Linked DNA regions of Homo sapiens: regions 1, 3 and 4 are each linked to region 2. Evidence: promoter capture Hi-C in 16 types of primary human blood cells and fetal thymus (Javierre and others, 2016). All regions are on one chromosome and are shown on one strand. Each heading gives the region's core, a stretch centred on a gene start or on the middle of the fragment in contact. The rest is flanking DNA. Distances are from core to core; before and after follow the strand shown. Region 1 has its middle 4.0 kb from the start of OR1L4. Region 2 holds the start of OR1N2 (olfactory receptor family 1 subfamily N member 2). Region 3 has its middle 3.3 kb from the start of OR5C1. Region 4 has its middle 11 kb from the start of OR1L6.

Region 1 (3,497 bases), core at 557-3,056, 170 kb after region 2:
ACAAAAACAAAAATTAGCCGGGCATGGTGGTGTGCACCTGTAGTCCCAGCTACTCGGGAGGCTGAGGCAGGAGAATTGCTTGAACTTGGGAGGCAGACATTGCAGTGAGCCGAGATCGTGCCACTGCACTCCAGCTTGGGCAACAGAGCGAGACACCATCACAAAAAAAAAAATTCTCCCATTCTGTAGGTTGCCTGTTCACTCTGATGATAGTTTCTTTTGCTGTGCAAAAGCTCTTTAGTTTAATTAGATCCCATTTGTCAATTTTGGCTTTTGTTGCCACTGCTTTTGAAAAACACTCAGATTCTATCCATGACTTTGACCAAATACATATTTAATCTCAGGCTAGGTACTGATAGGAATCCATATTTTAGGAAAACCACTTCAGCTATCCTCAATAGACTAGCTTCCATATGGTAAAATAAAGCTTTTCTACAAATACGTCTTCTATATGCCTGACAATGGGTCCCAGTCAAGGAGTTATAAATCCTGTTAGTCTTCAGAAGTGGAAACCACATGGATTTGGTAGGAAATTGGAAAGAACTTTTTGGAAAAGTGACATAAGCTTATCCTTAAAATAGACTGAATTTTGACAAAGGAAGTTCCAAAGGATGAGGAAATGGCCAACGCATTTCACATAGTAAAAACCAGCCAAGCACACAGAGGCAATACATTTTGGAATATTTTTTAGAAACACTGAAAAACCCTGTGAGTCTTATTCAGTTTGAGGGTAAGGACAATCCAATCGAACAGATAGAATGATCCAAAAAGAATATTTACTCCACCCCCCAACACCAAAGTGTCATGACAGTATGAGTTCTCAGTACCCTACCCCTTTTCCCTCTTTTTTTTTTTTTTTTTTTTTGAGATGGAGTCTTGCTCTGATGCCTAGTCTAGATTGCAGTGATGAGATCTCAGCTCACTGCAAACTCTGCCCACTGGGTTCAAACAATTCTCCTGCCTCAGCCTCCCTAGTAGCTGGAATTACAGGCATGTGCCACCATGCCCAGCTAAGTTTTGTACTTTCAGTAGAGATGGGGTTTTGCCATGTTGGCCAGGCTGGTTCCCTTCTGTTTTTTAAGAGACAGGGTCTCACTCTGTCACCCAAGCTGGAGTACAGTGACACAATCATAGCTCACTGTACCTCAAATTCCAGGGCTGAGTGATCCCATTCCTTTTTAATTCCTCTGTTCTTATGTCCAGCATCCTCACTAAGCTACCCTTTATATCTTAGAAAAAGCCATGTTTGTCAGTCAGGATAAGCTAGGATATACTGTGGAAATAAACAATCTCCAGTTGGATCTTAAAACTAAAGGTTATTATAATTTTCCCTAAACATCCACCATAGAAAAATATAAGGATGCTGCTCATTTTAACCAATCAGGGGTCCAAAATGGTAGATCAGGCACCACTGTGAACATTGATCATCATTCTGTCAGAAGCTGAGAAAGACACTGGAAGATTTTACATTGCCAACTAAATATTCTAGTCCAGAAGTGACCCACGCCACTTCTGACCATAACTTATCGTCCAAAACACATCCCATGACCCCACTCAAACACAAGGGAGCCAGAAGGCACAATCCAACCAGGTGCCTCTAAGATGGAGAGGCAGAAGTATTTGATGAATAGCATTAATGACTGCTACATAGCTCTATTAACACACAAACATATCAATGTACATCAGGTGCTTTATTAATCCTCCCTAATGATGTTATTGTCAATAAAAATAGTCATGTAGGAAAATTTCTGCCTCAATTATTTCAGCAAGTTTTCACAACCACCAGCTTTTCTGGGTCGCAGGCTTGTTAATGGCAGGACTTGAAGTTGAATACAAGTCTTTTGGCCTTAAAGATATAGCAAGAGGTGTGTAACGGTCTTATGGAACACAGGGACACCTAGCCTACAACATCAGGGTTCCATTCCTGTCACCCTTTTCACTAAATCCTCCTAATTATAAGGAAGTAACCAGCAAGCCAGAAAAGCTAATTTGCAGTAGCCTCTGTATTCGTTTAAGCACACCTGACTTTTACCACTATCTCCCACCAATCACTTGATTTTGAGATGCTGGCCTAGAAGACATATTTACTTTCTATTTCCTTTATTTATATGTCATAGTTTTCTCATACTCAACTAAGTGCCATAGCAACTTTAGAATGTGAGAATTCCTGGCATATATTAATAAATAAATTCACTAATTACAGCCTACAATAATTTTTAAAGCTAATTAAGCCCTTTGACCCCAAGAATCATAACTTTTATTTTTCAGTTCTGAGATCGGCCTGACTTTTTTTCCTCAACAAGTGCATGGCCACTAAAAAAAATCACGATTTTTTTTAATGAAAAACTTTAAGATATTCCCAGAAATTCAAACTAAAAGAAATTCTAAATAACAAGTGACCATGAGATAGCACTTTGGGATAAAAAAAGTTTCCAGTCTACCCCTTTGGTAAATCCTAAACTTCTCAGTTGGAATTGGAGGATTCTCTGTCAGGATATGATGCCAGTTTCCCCAAGTCACAATAAGGGACTGTCAGTGGGTAAGAAGCATCTGAAGACTTTAATAAGATTTTTTCTTTTCAAACATGAGAGCCCAGATGTTAACTCAGAAATGTGCTAATAAGCATCAGTAAGAGGAAAAAAAAATCTTTCTTGAAGGTAGATATAATCAGAAGAAGGGTCTACGCAGACCTCTGAGCATCTTGCCACATCAGGTGGAATGCTAGAATACAATAGAATAATAATACTATAAGCCTGTCCTTTGTTAAAAGAATTATAAATGTATTGAGTCCTTTTAGTGCAAGTTCATTTCAAAAACATAAATATTAGAGATTTTGCTCAATACTGAACTAAAAAAAAAATCCAGCTCATTGAACATATGTTGCCTGTCTATTAGAGCAAATGATATCAACTAGGAACACTGTGTAGCATGAGTTCTGAGGAGAATGTGAGAGAAGAATAAAAAGTATTTCTGGCATTGAAAAGTTTGATAGAGAATATATTATTGAGGGGGACTTAATAGGAATAGTCACAGAATCCAAGAAAAGAGGAAGCTTCAAGAGGCAGGGGCTATTAATAAGTGACCAAATATGATGAAAGTTTAATAAGCAAAGTAAGCCTGAAGATTGTTCATTGGCTTTAATGATATGGTGGTCATTGATGCCCTTGGTGAATTGGCAATGGAGAAATGGAAAAGGAGCCAGATTGGAATATGTTAAGGAATAAATGGAGGTGAGAATCTGGAGACAGTGATTATAATTTGTGTCAATGTTGTTCTATTGTTTTGTGGCTTGCATTGCTTCTAAAGAGAAATCAGCTATCATTTTTATCTTTGTTTCCCTCTTAGGTAAATTGTTTTTTTGTCCTGGCTGATTTTATTTTTGGTTTTTAACAATTTGACTATAGCTCAGCTGTATATGGAATTATTTATGTTTATCTGGCTTGGGGTTTATTGAGCTTCTTGGATCTTGGAAAGATATTTTTCTTCACATTTGGAAA
Region 2 (3,284 bases), core at 464-2,963:
TCATTAATTGAGTTTTGGAGTTTTTGAGGGTATTGTTTCCATCAGGATTATTCTCTTTAAGGAAATCGCCAGCAGAAATAGTTGTGTTTTAGTTTATACTCCTGATTTCTTCTTCAATGCAGTTTTACCTAGGACATGGGACAAGTGCTGACTTGCCTAATGCATATAGGCAGGAGTTCCCAGGTGACCTGCTAGTCAGGCTGAAGTACACTGCATTGCCAGCAAGAGGCTTCAGAATCACATTCCCGAGACCCACATTTGAGATCTTAACCCCTGGGAAAGAGAGGTCCTCAGCTCCCCTAGGATCCAGCCAGAGTTGGCTGGAGAACAGGCTGCACAATGACACCGAGGTCGACCTTAACGAGCACATTGGGAGATGGTGTTCTAGGAGCCTTTATAACCTTAAGAGATATTCCTGTCTTCTTATGCCCGGGGAAGCTGAAATCGAGCCATACACTTCAGGTATTTCTAATAAACTCTGGACTCAATAGACCCCGACTTTATTGCCTCTGAGTCAGAAAGGTCTCAGAGTTTTTTATTATGAATTATCCATCCAAGGAAGAGAATTGGAGAATTTGAAGATGCCTAAAACTGATCCATAATCTGACAGGTGAGGATTTGGAAGGGGTAGGACACATACACACACACACACACATACACTCTCTCTCTCTCTCTCTCTCTCACACACACACACATATACACCTTCCTTCCCAGTTCGATGATCAGGTGACCAGGCAAAAGTTTCCTGGGAAAGTGCTGAGTCTCTGCCTAAGGTCAGAAGCTTCTCTATGAACCAAAGAACAAATGGAGGACTAAAATAGTTACAAAAGCTTCTAAGGCCAAACTTCTACAAGATCAATATGAAATGGTTTCTCCTACCAGCTCACTAGGGCAGCAAAAAAACAGACTGGTTATTTTCAAACCAAAAAGTCAGGGCGATACCTTTCACCTTCCCTCCCTCTGGTTAAAAGTAAATATTAGATAAATGTAGTACAAATGTAGGGGTGAAGGCACAGGTGAACTAAAATATCAGTTCCCAGAGCAGATAGAGATGCATAGCAGCAAAAAAGGGAAGAGGACAGGGATAAAGGAGAGGAAGTGATGGAAGGGAGAGAGTGGCTCCCTGTCCTATTTGTATGCGTGTGTGTGGGAGGGAACATCCTAACAGTGGATGGGGGAGTACGACACCAGACACCTACTGCCCTCAGCTCACATATCCTTTGCCGCTAGTTAGGAAAGAGTACAGGACTGGTTTGAATGGGTGAGGTCAAATTCTCAGCACTGAAAGGCAAGTGGGGAGGAAGCTATCTTGTCTTAAAAGTCAATTTCAGCCCCCACAAAGAGGGCTTGAGTGTGTGTGTGTGTGTGTGTGTGTGTGTGTGTGTGTGTGTGTGTGTGTTGGAGGAGGGGTAGGAGTTTGATGGAGATCATGCATCTTCTTTCCAATTGACAATAACAAATGGCTTTTCTAATCTTGCCATCAAGCTATTCTCAATTCTCACTTCCTCTAAATAGCCCATGCCAATTTCTCTGGTCAAACAAATCTCTTTTCTTTGGATTCTGCTATAGCATACAAAGCACAATTGAGATTTGAATGGATATTATCTTAACTGTTCTCTAAATGTCTCTTGGGTATTTCCTTGCATTCCCAGTGAGATTCAGAGATTCTTATTGGCAAAGACCATTTATTTTTCTTTTCTTTTTCTCCCAGCACAGTTCTGGCCACACAGATGCATATCTGTAAATTGATCTAATAAATAAATACTGACACATGGAAGGTTTTTATCTGCGCAGATCACACGAACTACAAGGGATGGGAAAACCAGGCAGAGTGAACCAAACCACTGTTTCAGACTTCCTCCTTCTAGGACTCTCTGAGTGGCCAGAGGAGCAGCCTCTTCTGTTTGGCATCTTCCTTGGCATGTACCTGGTCACCATGGTGGGGAACCTGCTCATTATCCTGGCCATCAGCTCTGACCCACACCTCCATACTCCCATGTACTTCTTTCTGGCCAACCTGTCATTAACTGATGCCTGTTTCACTTCTGCCTCCATCCCCAAAATGCTGGCCAACATTCATACCCAGAGTCAGATCATCTCGTATTCTGGGTGTCTTGCACAGCTATATTTCCTCCTTATGTTTGGTGGCCTTGACAACTGCCTGCTGGCTGTGATGGCATATGACCGCTATGTGGCCATCTGCCAACCACTCCATTACAGCACATCTATGAGTCCCCAGCTCTGTGCACTAATGCTGGGTGTGTGCTGGGTGCTAACCAACTGTCCTGCCCTGATGCACACACTGTTGCTGACCCGCGTGGCTTTCTGTGCCCAGAAAGCCATCCCTCATTTCTATTGTGATCCTAGTGCTCTCCTGAAGCTTGCCTGCTCAGATACCCATGTAAACGAGCTGATGATCATCACCATGGGCTTGCTGTTCCTCACTGTTCCCCTCCTGCTGATCGTCTTCTCCTATGTCCGCATTTTCTGGGCTGTGTTTGTCATCTCATCTCCTGGAGGGAGATGGAAGGCCTTCTCTACCTGTGGTTCTCATCTCACGGTGGTTCTGCTCTTCTATGGGTCTCTTATGGGTGTGTATTTACTTCCTCCATCAACTTACTCTACAGAGAGGGAAAGTAGGGCTGCTGTTCTCTATATGGTGATTATTCCCACGCTAAACCCATTCATTTATAGCTTGAGGAACAGAGACATGAAGGAGGCTTTGGGTAAACTTTTTGTCAGTGGAAAAACATTCTTTTTATGATTAGACATCTAGACGGTGATGTCTAATCTTGATCAACCCCTCCCTGTCTTCCATCACTTCAGTAATTCTACTACTGTCATGTTGATATTAGGGGAAGGTTATCCGTTGACTCTGAGTTAGGGATGTAAAAAAAAAAAAAAGAGTGTTTCATTCTTTTATTAGGCTGTGGAATGAGATGTTCTGTCTCAGCCTCTTTCCTGACCCCAGTGAGGCAACCATTACTAACAGCAAAACTACTATTCCTCCTCACATCTCTAAAACCAGCATATTAGCCATAGTGAACAAGGCATTTGTTATGAGGCTCTGGAGCTGAGCAATTCTACCCCAGCAAGGCAGGCATGGGATGAGGTGAAGGAAGGAGAATAGAAACATTTATTGACTATCCACAATGTTCCTCATTATTCCTTACATCAGTTACTTTAGGTAGAATTGTGAAAACTGTGAATTAGGATGCTAAATAACTTAACAAGTCAATTTATGCCTATCGACTCCCTTTCTATTTTACCACTTTGTGAGGATC
Region 3 (3,087 bases), core at 336-2,835, 230 kb after region 2:
TGTGCTCATAGAGTGCCTGTCCCATAACAGGTAGTTAAAAAATGCTTGTTGAGTATATAATTAAAAATGGATTGATATTTAAGTGATTGATAGATTGATAAATACATACATACATACATGCATACATAAATATATACATAGACAGACTTCATAAGCTTTAATCCCAGGGACTGAAAGATAAATACGGAGTCAGACAGAAGTAGGAATGTTGGAAGGATTTGAAAAGACAAGAGAGTCAACTAGAGGCAACCGGGAACCTAAAAGTGCAGGAACCTGAAGTTTTCCAGATCCTTTCTAGCACTGATTAGCACCGAAGAGCAAACGCAGAAGTTGCTCCTTATGAAAACCTGAGTCCTCCTCTTTTATTAGCAAGTCCCACACTGACGTACACAACCCTAGAACGTCAATATTGCTCCTCCTGGGTAGTGAGGCGAGAGAGAGAGACGTTAATGGAGAATTAATTCTATGTTTTGTGTGTGCAAACACACACACTCCACAATACCTACTTAACTGAAGTTTGTGGGTACTTGTACCCAAAACATTCAAAGTACCTTAAAAGTCCTGAAGTCTCGTTGTCCCTATTTTACAGATGGAGAAATGGAGAGGCACTCAAAGCACCTCTGCTCCTCACTCGGTAAAGGTGAGTTGCATTTGCTTTCCATGTGGACAGACTGAAATACAAAGGGGTTGGCCACCCACTGGGTTCTGTGTGCAGAACTTCGGCCAGGTAGCAGACTTCATTCTTGGAGAACAGGTAGTTGAGTAGAACTGGAACTCCCTGTTTCTGTACCCCTGGAAGCTGTCTGACCTCCACCAGTGACACACCAAGGAGAAGGAGGAAGATACCTAAAATCCTGTATGCCTATGGACAGAGGGGTGAATTAAGCACAGTCCCAGATCTTAAGATGCTTGATCAGGTGAGAGGAGATAAGCATGTAGGTAATTATACAACAATGGAATAATGATATGATGCAGAGAGACTGGTGAGTGGAGTTCCAGCATGAGAGGATGGGCAGTTGGGTGCTCAGATAAAGATGACCCCTAAGCTGAATCTTAAAAGATAAGAAGGATCAGCTCTGACATAGCAGGGGGCAAAGGCCATGGAATCCTCTGAAATGCCCTCAGGTCTTTTAGCTGGAGCCCCATCTCTGTTTGGAGCAGACAGCAGTATGTCTTATATACACATACATTAAAAAAACATATGTTATGAGTTTTTTCATCAATCTGTATATTTTTTCTGAAAATTATGTTTTGATCTCAATATGTTCTTGAGATTTCTCTATATTGTTATATAGAGGTTGACTCCATTCCTGTTTAACTCCCATGAGCCTACTGATAAACATTTAGGTTTGACTAACATTTATTTAGCCATTACAAATAGTCCAGGAATGCATGCTCCCTTGTCTCCTTCTGTATACATGAGAGGGTTTTCAAAAGTAAACACCAAGTAGTGGAATTACCAGGTGCTATGGACTGAATGTTTACATCCCCAAAAAATTCATGTTGAAATTCTAACCCCCAATATGATGGTATTTGGAGAAGGAGCCTTTGGGAGGTAATTAGGTCTAAAACTATTTAGGTCATTATGGTGGCATCTATGATAATGGGATTGGTACCCTTATAAGAAACCAGAGAGCTTTCTCTGTCTCTCTGTCCCCAACCTGTGACAATACAGTAGGAAGGTGGCCATCTACAAGCCAGAAGGAGGGCTCTCACTAGAACCCAACCATGCTGACATGCTAACCACAGACTTCCCAGTTTCCAGGACCATGATAAATAAATGTCTGTTGTTTAAGCCACCCAGTCTATTGGCATTTTGTTATAGCAAACTGAGTAGCTTAAGACACTGGGGCGTGCACAGTGGTCGGAAATGTCCCAGTTTACATTTCCACAAGCACAACCTCACCAACGTGATATTGTCAAAATTTTTCATCCAATTTGTGCTTTGTAGGAGATTTTCACCATCCTCACTGGGCACAGGTAAGTCCCAAACATCTAAACTTCTCTTAAAAGGAGGGGAAGAAGAATTTATTCAGCTCCGGGCCCCTTCCTGCACACCTATTGCCTCTTAAAAACCTCCACAGAGATATTATGATTCCTACTTTGCAAGGAGAAAACCAAAGTTAAGGGAGGTGAAGTGACTTGCCTGAAGTTACACACCAGAAAGTTGTGGAACTAGGACTCAAAAGCAAGTGTTCATGCTGCTAATGTCTGTACTCTTGTTCACTGTGTTATGGACTCAACTAACATTTTTTGAGCTCTGATTATATACCTCACCCTGGAGATACAAAAATGAATTATGGGGCATTCTTAGCACACAGTAATGCTCAATAAAACTTTGTTGAATGAATATTGAATCAAGGAGCTCAAAGTTCACAGGAGACACACATGTAAAAGATATTTGCAATAGAATGGTGAAGCAGCATGAGAGAGGTACAGCAGTTGTTCCCCTTTACCCACAGTTTTGCTTTCTGCAGTTTCAGTTACCTGCAGTCAACTGTGACCCGAAACTATTAAAAACAGGCTGGGTGCAGTGGCTCACACCTGTAATCCCAACACTTTGGGAAGCCGAGACAGACGAATCACCTGAGGTCAGGAGTTCGAGACCAACCTGGCCAATGTGGTGAAACCCCATCTCTACTAAAAATACAAAAAAATTAGCTGGGCATGGTAGCACACACCTGTAGTCCCAGCCACTCAGGAGGCTGAGGCAGGAGAATCACTTGGACCTAGGAGGTGGAGGTTGCAGTGAGCCGAGATCACACCACTGCACTCCAGCCTGGGTGACAGAGTGAGACTCCATCTCAAAAAAAAAAAAAACAAAAACAAAACAAAACAAAACAAAACAAAACAAAAAAAAAAAAAATATATATATATATATATATATATAAAAGTAAGATATTTTGAGGGACAGAGAGAGAGACCATATTCACCTAACTTGTATTATAGTACATTGTTATAATTGTTCTATGTTATTATTGTTGTTGTTATCCCTTACTATGCCTAATTTATAAATTAAGCTTTATCATGGATATGAATGTATAGGGAAAAAAATCACATATATAGGGTTCAGTACGATCTGTGATT
Region 4 (3,173 bases), core at 283-2,782, 200 kb after region 2:
TCATTCACATTGTAGGTCCACCATAGAAAAGTGTAAGTGTGCTACTTATTTTCAACATGCAGAGACCCAAGATCGTGGAGCAGTCACCACTGAAAACATTAATCATCACTCTGCCAGAAGCTGAGAAAGGCTCTTGGAGGTTTCACACTGGCAGTTAAAAACTCTGGCCCAGAAGTGACCCTCACCTCTTATGACCATAACTTATTGTCTAAAACACCTCTCATGACCCCACCCAAACGCAAGGCAGCCAGGAGGCACAATCCAACTATGTCCCTCTAAGATTTTAGAAAGCCAGAAGTATTTGATAAACCGCATTCATTACTACTACCCAACTATATTAACATACAAACACATCAGTGTGAATTAGTTGCTTCATCAGTTCTCCTGGATTGTGTTATTGTCAATAACAATAGTAATGTAACACTTACACACTGTCTGGGATTTTTCTGCTTCAATTATTTCATCAAGTTCCCACAACCATCAGCTTTTCTAGGTCACAAGCTTGTGTGGCAGGACCTGACGCTGAATACAAGTTTTTTGGCCTTAAAGATTTAGTAAGAGGTGAATGGTGTCCAAGGAAATACAGGGACACCTAGGTTCCGACATCAAGGTCCCTGCTAGTGCTTTCACTACGTGCTCCTAATTATAAGGGAGTAACCAGAAAGCCAGGAAAGAAACCCAAAGCAATAACCTTCGTGTTTGTACAGGCACACCTGGTTTTCACCACTATCTCTCACTGATCATTTGGTTTGTGGGATGCTGGCCTAGAAGATATGTACCATTTCCACTTACTCAATTTATGTGCCATAGTTTTCTCATGCTCAACCAAGTTCAATTAGCTACTTCAGAATGTTAGGAATATCTATATTAAATAAATCTATTCATAAATTATATGTATATTACATATACATTAAATAAACAAATTCATTAATTATGCCACCATTAACTTATAAATCCAATTAAGTTCTTTAGTCCTGAGAACACTAACTTACTTTTTTTTTTTTAACTTATTTTAAATTCCAGGATACATGTGCAGGACGTGTAGGTTTGTTACATGGGTAAACGTGTGCTATGGTGGTTTCCTGCACCTATCAACCCATCACCTAGGTATTAAGCCCCATATGCATTAGCTATTTATCCTGATGCTCTCCCTCCCCACTCCCACCCAGACCGCAGTGTGGGTTGTTCCCCTCCCTCTGTCCATGTTTTCTCGTTGTTCAGCTCCCACTTGTAAGTGAGAATATGCAGAGTTCAGTTTTCTGTTCTTGTGTTAGTTTGCTGAGGATAATAGATTCCAGCTCCATCCATGTCCCTGCAAAGGACATGATCTTGTTCCTTTTTATAACTTCATAGTATTCCATGGTGTATATGTACCACATTTTCTTTATGCAGTGTATCATTGATGGACATTTGGGTTGATACCATGTCTTTGCTATTGTGAATAGTGCTGCAATGAACATACGTGTGCATGTATCTTTATAATAGAATAATTTATATTCCTTTGGGTATATATCCAGTAATGGCACTGCTGGGTTGAATGGTATTTGTGGTTCTAGGTCTTTGAGGAATTGGCACACTATCTTCCACAATAGTTGAACTAATTTACATTCCCACCAACAGTATAAAAGTGTTCCTATTTCTCCAGTCTCACCAGCATCTGTTGTTTCTTGACTTTTTAATAATCACCATTCTGACTGTCATGAGATGGTATCTCATGGTGGTTATGATTTGCATTTCTCTAATGACCGTGATGTTGAGCTTTCTTTCATGTTTGTTGGCCGCGTAAATGTCTTCTTTTGAGAAGTGTCTGTTTATGTCTTTTGCCCACTTTTTAATGGGGTTGTTTATTTTTTTCTTGTAAATTTTTTAAGTTCCTTGTAGATTCTGGATATTTGACCTTTGTCAGATGGATATTTCTGATCTCACATTGCCATCAGCCCCAGACTTCTTTTTCTCAACAAATGCATGGCAAAAAAAAATCATAAAAGATGTTTTATGAATAATCCTAGAGATATTACCAAAAGTGTAAAGAAAAGGAAATTCTAGATAACAATTAACCACGAGAGTGCACTTTGGGATGAAAGAGTTCCTACTCTGACCCTCAGGTAAGTCCTAAACTTCTCAGTCAGAGCTGGAGTGTTTTCTCTGTCAAAATATGAAGCTACTTCCCACAAGACATCCTGTCACTCTTCAGAAGGAAAGAACTGCCATGAGCAAGGAGTATCTACAAAGTGTAGTAAGATTTTTGCTGTCCAATCAAGAGAGTCCAGAAGTCAACCTAGAAAGTCACTAATAAGCATGAGTAAGAGGAAATAAATAGATTATGAAGGTAGATATAATCACAGGGAGGGATTTCAACAGGCCTCTGGACATCTTGTCACATTGTCTCAAATGCTGCTACATAGTCCTTGAGAGTAGACAAGGAATCTCCTTGCCAGCTCCTTGTTTCACCATATTGGTATCCAGAAGGCTGGCTGAATACAATAGAGAAATAATACCATAGGTCTCTCATTTGTTGACAAAACACAAAAAGTTTAAAAAAATGTATTGGGTTTTTCCAATGTAAGCTTATTACATATATACAAATATTTGAGATTTAGCTCAATACTGAAATAAGGGGAATTCAGTTCACTGAACATATTTTACCTGTTTATCAGAGTAAGTGATGACAATTAGGAAGAGTGTGTAGCATGAGACCCAAGAAAAAAGTAGGGAAGAGGGCAGAGTATTTCTGGCATTGAAGAATCTAATAGAGAAAACATTATCAAAGAGGAATTAAAAGGAGTAGTCATAGAATTCAAGAGAAGAGTAAATTTGAAGAGGCAGGAGCCATTAACTGGTATCAAAATATGATGACAGTTTAACAAAATAAGGCTGAAGGTTGTCCATTGGCTTTAGTGACATGGTGGTGATTCATAACTTTGGTGAATGTGCAATGGAGAAATGGAAAACGAGCCAGATTGTGATGTGTTAAGGAATGAGTGAAGGTGAGAATGGAGAGAATGATTATAATCTGTGTCAATGTTGTTCCATGGTCTTATGACTTGCATTATTTTCAAAGAGAAATCAGTTGTAAGTCTTATCTTTAGTCCTCCTATAGGTGATACGTCTTTTTGCTCTGACTGGTTTTATTTTTTGGTTTTTAGCAATTTGATTACATATGGATTTCTTTG

What was found. The method cuts DNA at HindIII sites, captures the fragments that hold promoters and counts their contacts. A CHiCAGO score of 5 or more calls a contact.
Region 1: a contact is called between a fragment that was not itself captured here and the fragment with the promoter of OR1N2 in region 2, in 2 of 17 cell types (M1 macrophages and endothelial precursors). The highest score is 6.7, in M1 macrophages.
Region 3: a fragment that was not itself captured here is called in contact with the fragment with the promoter of OR1N2 in region 2 in 3 of 17 cell types (M1 macrophages, endothelial precursors and megakaryocytes); the score reaches 7.8 in M1 macrophages.
Region 4: a contact is called between a fragment that was not itself captured here and the fragment with the promoter of OR1N2 in region 2, in 5 of 17 cell types (endothelial precursors, monocytes, M1 macrophages and 2 more). The highest score is 6.8, in endothelial precursors.

Annotation. Positions count from the first base shown.
Region 1 is chr9:122,726,196-122,729,692 of GRCh38, forward strand. No RefSeq gene overlaps it. Among named protein-coding and RNA genes, the nearest start is that of OR1L4, 4.0 kb to the left of the region's middle. The HindIII fragment of the contact is 2,487 bases long and covers 564-3,050 here.
Region 2 is chr9:122,551,399-122,554,682 of GRCh38, forward strand. OR1N2 (olfactory receptor family 1 subfamily N member 2) reads left to right here and starts at 1,714. Exons shown (of 1, transcript NM_001004457.2): 1 at 1,714-2,816. The coding sequence starts at 1,814. The coding sequence ends at 2,764. It also overlaps a transcript of OR1J2 not described here and a transcript of OR1L8 not described here. The HindIII fragment of the contact is 1,550 bases long and covers 829-2,378 here.
Region 3 is chr9:122,784,071-122,787,157 of GRCh38, forward strand. No RefSeq gene overlaps it. Among named protein-coding and RNA genes, the nearest start is that of OR5C1, 3.3 kb to the right of the region's middle. The HindIII fragment of the contact is 2,865 bases long and covers 154-3,018 here.
Region 4 is chr9:122,751,993-122,755,165 of GRCh38, forward strand. No RefSeq gene overlaps it. Among named protein-coding and RNA genes, the nearest start is that of OR1L6, 11 kb to the left of the region's middle. The HindIII fragment of the contact is 2,066 bases long and covers 500-2,565 here.